2 separate regions of the Homo sapiens genome follow, and region 1 is linked to region 2. The links are contacts of gene promoters, found by promoter capture Hi-C in blood cells and fetal thymus (Javierre and others, 2016). All regions are on one chromosome and are shown on one strand. The core of a region is centred on a gene start or on the middle of the fragment in contact, and the rest is flanking DNA. Distances in the headings are between cores, read along the strand shown. Region 1 overlaps BOD1L1 (biorientation of chromosomes in cell division 1 like 1). Region 2 holds the start of CD38 (CD38 molecule).

Evidence for each region. The method cuts DNA at HindIII sites, captures the fragments that hold promoters and counts their contacts. A CHiCAGO score of 5 or more calls a contact.
Region 1: a contact is called between a fragment that was not itself captured here and the fragment with the promoter of CD38 in region 2, in 1 of 17 cell types (monocytes). The highest score is 5.7, in monocytes.

What each region holds. Positions count from the first base shown.
Region 1 is chr4:13,602,087-13,605,768 of GRCh38, reverse strand. It overlaps BOD1L1 (biorientation of chromosomes in cell division 1 like 1), which reads left to right. Exons shown (of 26, transcript NM_148894.3): 10 at 685-3,682. Among named protein-coding and RNA genes, the nearest start is that of BOD1L1, 24 kb to the left of the region's middle. The HindIII fragment of the contact is 731 bases long and covers 1,212-1,942 here.
Region 2 is chr4:15,776,495-15,779,866 of GRCh38, reverse strand. It overlaps CD38 (CD38 molecule), which reads right to left and starts at 1,539. Exons shown (of 8, transcript NM_001775.4): 1 at 1,220-1,539. The coding sequence starts at 1,452. RefSeq lists silencers at 781-830, 1,021-1,070 and enhancers at 1,201-1,700, 1,112-1,754. The HindIII fragment of the contact is 6,782 bases long and covers 1-3,372 here.

The sequences.
Region 1 (3,682 bases), core at 328-2,827, 2.2 Mb after region 2:
TCATGAGGTTTCCATACATAATTCAGCTTTTTAAATTAAAATATAGGAAATCTATATTTCAGTATATTTCAATTTTAAATTGCCTTCATGTATTATGTTTTTGACTGAAAAGGACATTTGACTGTCATTTATTCAGCTCATATTTATTATTGAGTACTGGGCATTAGTGAGTTCTAGTGATTCAGAATTGAAGAATTCATAGACAAATCAGTGCCTGTGATATACTGGAAGGAGTACTAGACTCGGAATGAAATAATCTAAACTCATTCCTAACACACCTACTTGTGGTCTGAGTGTCAAGTTATAGAATCATGCTGAGCTACAATTTCCTGATGTTTTAATGGCATATTTTTAAGTATTTAACTTTATTTTGTGATAAATCTCTATGAGAAATAATCTCATAAAATTGTTCATATTGTTTAGAATTAGTTTTTTTATTGTAAAATATGGTTGTTGCAAACTCCTGTTAGTTCTTTGAAGAATTTAGCTTCTTAAAATCAAGTTAATAATACTTATTTTTTAAAATCAGGTGAGTTTTTGACACCTACACAGGCTGTTTGTAAGAATTAAGTGAGATGTTACATATGTGACAGCACTCAACATATTAAATCCACCCAAATGTTATGTTTTAATCTAAAAATTGATTTTGGTATTTCTCATATTTTAACCTTTGTTTTCTTTCAGCATTGTGAAAAGGAAAAAATTTCTTCTTCAAAGGAGCTGAAGCATGTTCATGCAAAAAGTGAACCAAGTAAACCTGCCCGGAGACTTTCAGAGTCTTTGCATGTAGTTGACGAAAACAAAAATGAATCCAAATTAGAAAGAGAACATAAAAGACGGACATCTACCCCTGTTATCATGGAGGGGGTACAGGAAGAGACTGACACAAGAGATGTAAAAAGGCAAGTAGAACGCTCAGAAATTTGCACCGAAGAGCCCCAGAAACAGAAAAGCACACTTAAAAACGAAAAGCATCTAAAGAAAGATGATTCTGAAACACCACATTTGAAAAGCCTACTTAAGAAAGAGGTGAAATCCTCCAAGGAGAAGCCTGAAAGAGAGAAAACTCCATCGGAAGACAAATTGTCTGTGAAACATAAATATAAAGGTGATTGTATGCATAAAACAGGTGATGAGACTGAGCTTCACTCTTCTGAGAAAGGTTTAAAAGTAGAGGAAAATATTCAAAAGCAAAGTCAACAAACAAAGCTTTCTTCAGATGATAAAACCGAACGAAAAAGTAAACATAGGAATGAAAGGAAATTATCAGTATTAGGCAAAGATGGAAAGCCAGTTTCTGAATATATTATAAAAACAGATGAGAATGTTCGTAAAGAAAACAACAAAAAAGAGAGACGCTTGTCAGCTGAAAAAACTAAGGCAGAGCACAAATCAAGAAGGTCAAGTGATTCTAAAATTCAGAAAGATTCTCTGGGTTCCAAGCAACATGGTATCACATTACAGAGAAGAAGTGAAAGTTATTCGGAAGATAAGTGTGATATGGACTCCACTAACATGGATAGTAATTTGAAACCAGAAGAGGTTGTTCACAAGGAGAAACGACGAACAAAGAGCTTGTTAGAAGAGAAACTTGTGTTGAAGTCTAAATCAAAAACTCAAGGCAAACAGGTAAAAGTTGTAGAAACAGAATTACAAGAAGGTGCCACAAAACAGGCAACCACTCCAAAACCAGACAAGGAGAAGAACACAGAAGAAAATGACTCAGAAAAACAGCGTAAGTCTAAAGTTGAAGACAAACCTTTTGAAGAAACTGGTGTTGAACCTGTATTAGAGACTGCTTCTTCTTCAGCACATAGTACACAGAAGGATTCTAGTCATAGAGCCAAGTTACCATTAGCAAAGGAGAAATATAAGAGTGATAAAGACTCCACTTCCACCAGGCTTGAGAGAAAGTTGTCAGATGGCCACAAAAGCAGAAGCTTAAAGCATAGTAGTAAAGACATAAAAAAGAAGGACGAAAATAAATCAGATGACAAGGATGGTAAAGAAGTTGACAGTAGTCATGAAAAGGCCAGAGGTAATAGTTCACTCATGGAAAAGAAATTAAGTAGAAGGTTGTGCGAAAATCGGAGAGGAAGCTTGTCACAAGAAATGGCCAAAGGAGAAGAAAAATTAGCAGCAAACACTTTGAGCACTCCCAGCGGTTCCTCCCTTCAGAGACCAAAAAAGAGTGGTGATATGACATTGATCCCTGAACAAGAGCCAATGGAAATTGATTCTGAGCCAGGTGTTGAAAATGTGTTTGAAGTATCTAAAACCCAAGACAACCGCAATAATAATTCTCAGCAAGACATTGACTCTGAAAATATGAAACAAAAAACTTCTGCCACTGTTCAAAAGGATGAATTGAGAACTTGCACAGCAGATTCAAAAGCAACAGCTCCAGCTTATAAGCCAGGCCGTGGAACAGGAGTTAATAGTAATTCTGAAAAGCATGCCGATCATAGAAGCACCTTGACCAAGAAAATGCATATACAAAGTGCTGTGTCCAAAATGAACCCTGGGGAGAAAGAACCCATTCATAGAGGAACTACTGAAGTGAATATAGATTCTGAAACTGTTCATAGAATGTTACTGAGTGCCCCATCAGAAAATGATAGGGTACAGAAGAATTTGAAAAACACAGCTGCTGAAGAACATGTTGCTCAAGGAGATGCCACTCTTGAACATTCCACAAATTTAGACTCCTCACCATCCTTAAGTTCAGTGACTGTTGTGCCTCTGAGGGAATCGTATGATCCAGATGTAATTCCTCTGTTTGACAAAAGAACTGTTTTGGAAGGTAGCACAGCCAGCACCTCCCCTGCGGATCACTCTGCTCTCCCTAACCAAAGTCTGACTGTTAGGGAATCAGAAGTCCTTAAGACAAGTGACAGCAAAGAAGGTGGTGAAGGTTTCACAGTAGATACACCAGCAAAAGCAAGCATCACTAGCAAAAGACACATTCCAGAAGCTCACCAGGCTACTTTATTGGATGGTAAACAAGGAAAGGTAATCATGCCTCTTGGAAGTAAGTTAACGGGCGTGATTGTGGAAAATGAGAATATTACCAAAGAAGGTGGCTTAGTGGACATGGCCAAGAAAGAAAATGACTTAAATGCAGAGCCCAATTTAAAGCAGACAATTAAAGCAACAGTAGAGAATGGCAAGAAGGATGGCATTGCTGTTGATCATGTTGTAGGCCTGAATACAGAAAAATATGCTGAAACTGTCAAACTTAAGCATAAAAGAAGCCCAGGTAAAGTAAAAGACATATCAATTGATGTTGAAAGAAGGAATGAAAACAGTGAGGTAGACACCAGTGCTGGAAGTGGCTCTGCACCCTCTGTTTTACACCAAAGGAACGGACAAACTGAGGATGTGGCAACTGGGCCTAGGAGAGCAGAAAAGACTTCTGTTGCCACTAGTACTGAAGGGAAGGACAAAGATGTCACCTTAAGTCCAGTGAAGGCTGGGCCTGCCACAACCACTTCTTCAGAAACAAGACAAAGTGAGGTGGCTTTGCCTTGCACCAGCATTGAGGCAGATGAAGGCCTCATAATAGGAACACATTCCAGAAATAATCCTCTTCATGTTGGTGCAGAAGCCAGTGAATGCACTGTTTTTGCTGCAGCTGAAGAAGGTGGGGCTGTTGTCACAGAGGGATTTGCTGAAAGTGAAA
Region 2 (3,372 bases), core at 290-2,789:
ATGAGATAGATCTTTATGTACTCACATTGAAAGATCTTCAAGACCAGTGTTACTTTTTTTTTTTTTAATGAGGTTGCTTTCTAACATTACCATTTCATTTTGGATTTCACTTCATACTTTACAATACAGCCTGGAGGAACGCCTCAACTTCTAGTTTCTCTCTCCATTAAGTATCTAATTATGTGTAAATAGAACAACTAACGGGACGCTGGGAAGCCCAGGAGGCAAACATTTTGCAACCGGAACTGTTGAGTGTGCTCGGAGAGGCGAGGGAGGTCTATTTGCTCGTTTCCTCGGATTGCTTAAATGCGGGATTTTGCTATCCCAAAGCACAGAGTGTAAAGTAGCAGCTCCCCCTGCCTGCCTTCCCGGCTTCTTCTGTTTTACAAGCAACGATAATTTCCCGGTGAAAGCGAGGCCTGGGAATCAAATCCAAAAAGTGGTTGTTCCCTTTAGGAGAGGTTAGTAGCTGGAAAGGAGCATGAGAAAACTGGAAGGTCCCATAGACTAATGTGTTTTTTTTCCAAGGTTTGTACAGATTCACCGAGTTGCTGCGCCTTATCATCTAAGTAATGTCTCGGTTTTAGAAGTTGACATTGTTTTGTTAATTACTTCTCTGGTCACATGCATTTCAGGCCGCGCAAAAAGAATCGGAGTGCTGCTTTATATAAATGAATAAAACTAAGTTCCGTGGTTTGGCCCTTCTACACCCTCCTCCCCTACCACAGGCTTTGCAAACCACTTAAGTGTCCTCTGTAACCGTCCGGGGGCACTTTCGGGTCAGAGACAGCGGGCGGAAACCGCAGAAAAAGTTGAAAATGTCAGCGACACCCTGCATCTGCGAGTTCTATTCCGTCCCTGAAGCGGTGAAGCGGGCTGAGCGCGCCGAGGGTGGGCTGCAGCCCGGCGAGGGGCTGGGCTCAGGGCACCTTGCCCAGAAGGCGGGCATCGGTGCCAAGTGTTCACCGGCTACGCAGCAGAGCCACCGAGCAGCGCCCCCCCCCGCCTCCCGCGGGCACGCTCGGTGCCAAGGCCAGCTGCTCCTGAAAGCGGCCCGCGGAGCCCCGAGCCCGGGACTCCCTACTCAGCACCACCCGGCGGGCTCTCGGCTGACCCGCCACGGAAGATGCCCGGTTCCGGGCGATCCGGGCGGCTTCCCTGCGCGCGGGGCCCTGCTGTCCCCGCAGTGCCCACCGGTGCGCCTTAGTCGCCAACCCACCTCATCTCAGGATGAATTTCAGTGTACTTGACGCATCGCGCCAGGACGGTCTCGGGAAAGCGCTTGGTGGTGCCCGGACCGCTCCACTGCTGGCGCCACCTCGGGACGACCACCGCGAGCACCACGACGAGGATCAGGACCAGGATACTGACGCCAAGACAGAGTTGGGCTCTCCTAGAGAGCCGGCAGCAGGGTTTGTCCCCGGACACCGGGCTGAACTCGCAGTTGGCCATAGGGCTCCAGGCGGGGTTGGCTGGGCGAAGATGAGGCCGGCAGGAGGCTAGGCAGCAAGAGAGAGGCTGGCTGGGTTCTGAAACTGCACCTCCCCTTCTGTTTCACTTGCCTTTTCTCTGTTTCCCTTCCCACCCCCAACCCCTTGCCTCAGAGTTCCGTGGCTGGTTACACCAATAAGAGTTTAAAAGACCAACAACTATAGGCTCCTGTGCAGTGACCCACCCACTCCACCTCCAGGGAGAAACAGCCACCTTAATCCTCTGCAGGTGTCCTAAGGGGGCAGACAGTACATCCTTATACTCCCTCCGCTAACTCCCTTCATCAACCGGGCACTTTACACCTGAGCCACATTTGCTTCCTGGAAAGCATGAGGGTGGGCTGCCTGCTTCTATACGTGTGTGCACACAATGCCCTCTGCCTGGAAAAGGATGTCCTACCTCTCTTTCTTAACTCTGACAAATGCCTGGTCAACCACCTTTAAAGACTCAACTTAAGTCTGACTCCTTCTCTCAAGAGGCATCAGTGGCTAAGCTCTGGGTTCAAATTTAGTTCTTGCTGGATGACATGGGGCAAGTTACTTAACCTCTCTGTACTTCAGATGTAAAGCCGGGATAGTAGCAGTACCTACTTCATGGGATTGTTACGAGGATTAAGTGAGTTAATATCTACAACGTGTTTAGCACAATACCTGGCACATGGTAATCACCCAGTAAATGTAAGTTGTTACTACCAGCTCTAGGAGCTGCTCAGAGATGCAATTTTATAGTCCATGGAATGTGTTTGAAGCAGGGTCTGGCACACAGTAATAATACTGCACTCTATGCGGGAGTTTAATAAATAATAAAGTGGCTTTTCTTGCCTCTTCTTTATTAAGAGAACATCTGTGACATTCAAGCAGAGACCTAAGTAATGTGAGCGATCAAGTCACCCAACTCCCTTGGGGCAAACATTTCCCAAGCAGAGGAAATGGCAGGTGCAAAGACTCTGAGGCAGAAAAGCTCTTGGCCTGTTCCAGAGCAGCAAGGAGGCCAATTGTAGTTAGGCTAGAGGGTTGAGGGAAACAGAACAGAAGTTCGGAAAGTAGCAGGAGACCAGATCACCCATAGCTCTGTAAGACAGGATGACTTTTTGGACTGTGTGTTTTATTTATTTTTTATCTTTTTTATTTTGTTTTAAGTTCTGGGATACATGTACAGGACGTGCAGAGTTGTTACATAGGTAAATGTGTGCCATGGTGGTTTGCTGCACCTATCAATCCATTGCTTAGGTATTAAGCCCCTCATGTTTTAGCTATTCTTTCTGATGCTCTCCCTCCCTCCACTCTCCCCAACAGGCCCCAGTGTGTGTTGTTCCCCTCCCTGTGTTCATTGTTCAGCTCCCACTTATAAGTGAGAACATGCAGTGCTTGGTTTTCTGTTCCTGTGTTAGTTTGCTGAGGATAATGGCTTCCAGCTCCATCCATGTCCCTGCAAAGGACATGATCTCGTTCCTTTTTGTGGCTGCACAGTATTCCCTGGTGTATATGTACCACATTGTCTTTATCCAGTCTGTCATTGATGGGCATTTGGGTTGATTCCATGTCATTGCTATTGTGAATAGTGCTACAATGAACATATGCATGCATGTATCTTTATAACAGAATGATTTATATTCCTTTGGGTATATACCCAGTAATGAGATTGCTGGGTCAAATGGTATTTCTGGTTCTAGATCTTTGAGGAATCCCCATACTGTCTTCCACAATGGTTGAACTAATTTACACTCCCATCAACAGTGTAAGTGTTCCTATTTCTCCACAACCTCACCAGCATCTGTTGTTTATTGACTTTTTAATGATCACCATTCTGACTGGCATGAGATGATATTTCATTGTGGTTTTGGTTTGCATTTTTCTAATGATCAATGATGTTGAGCTTTTT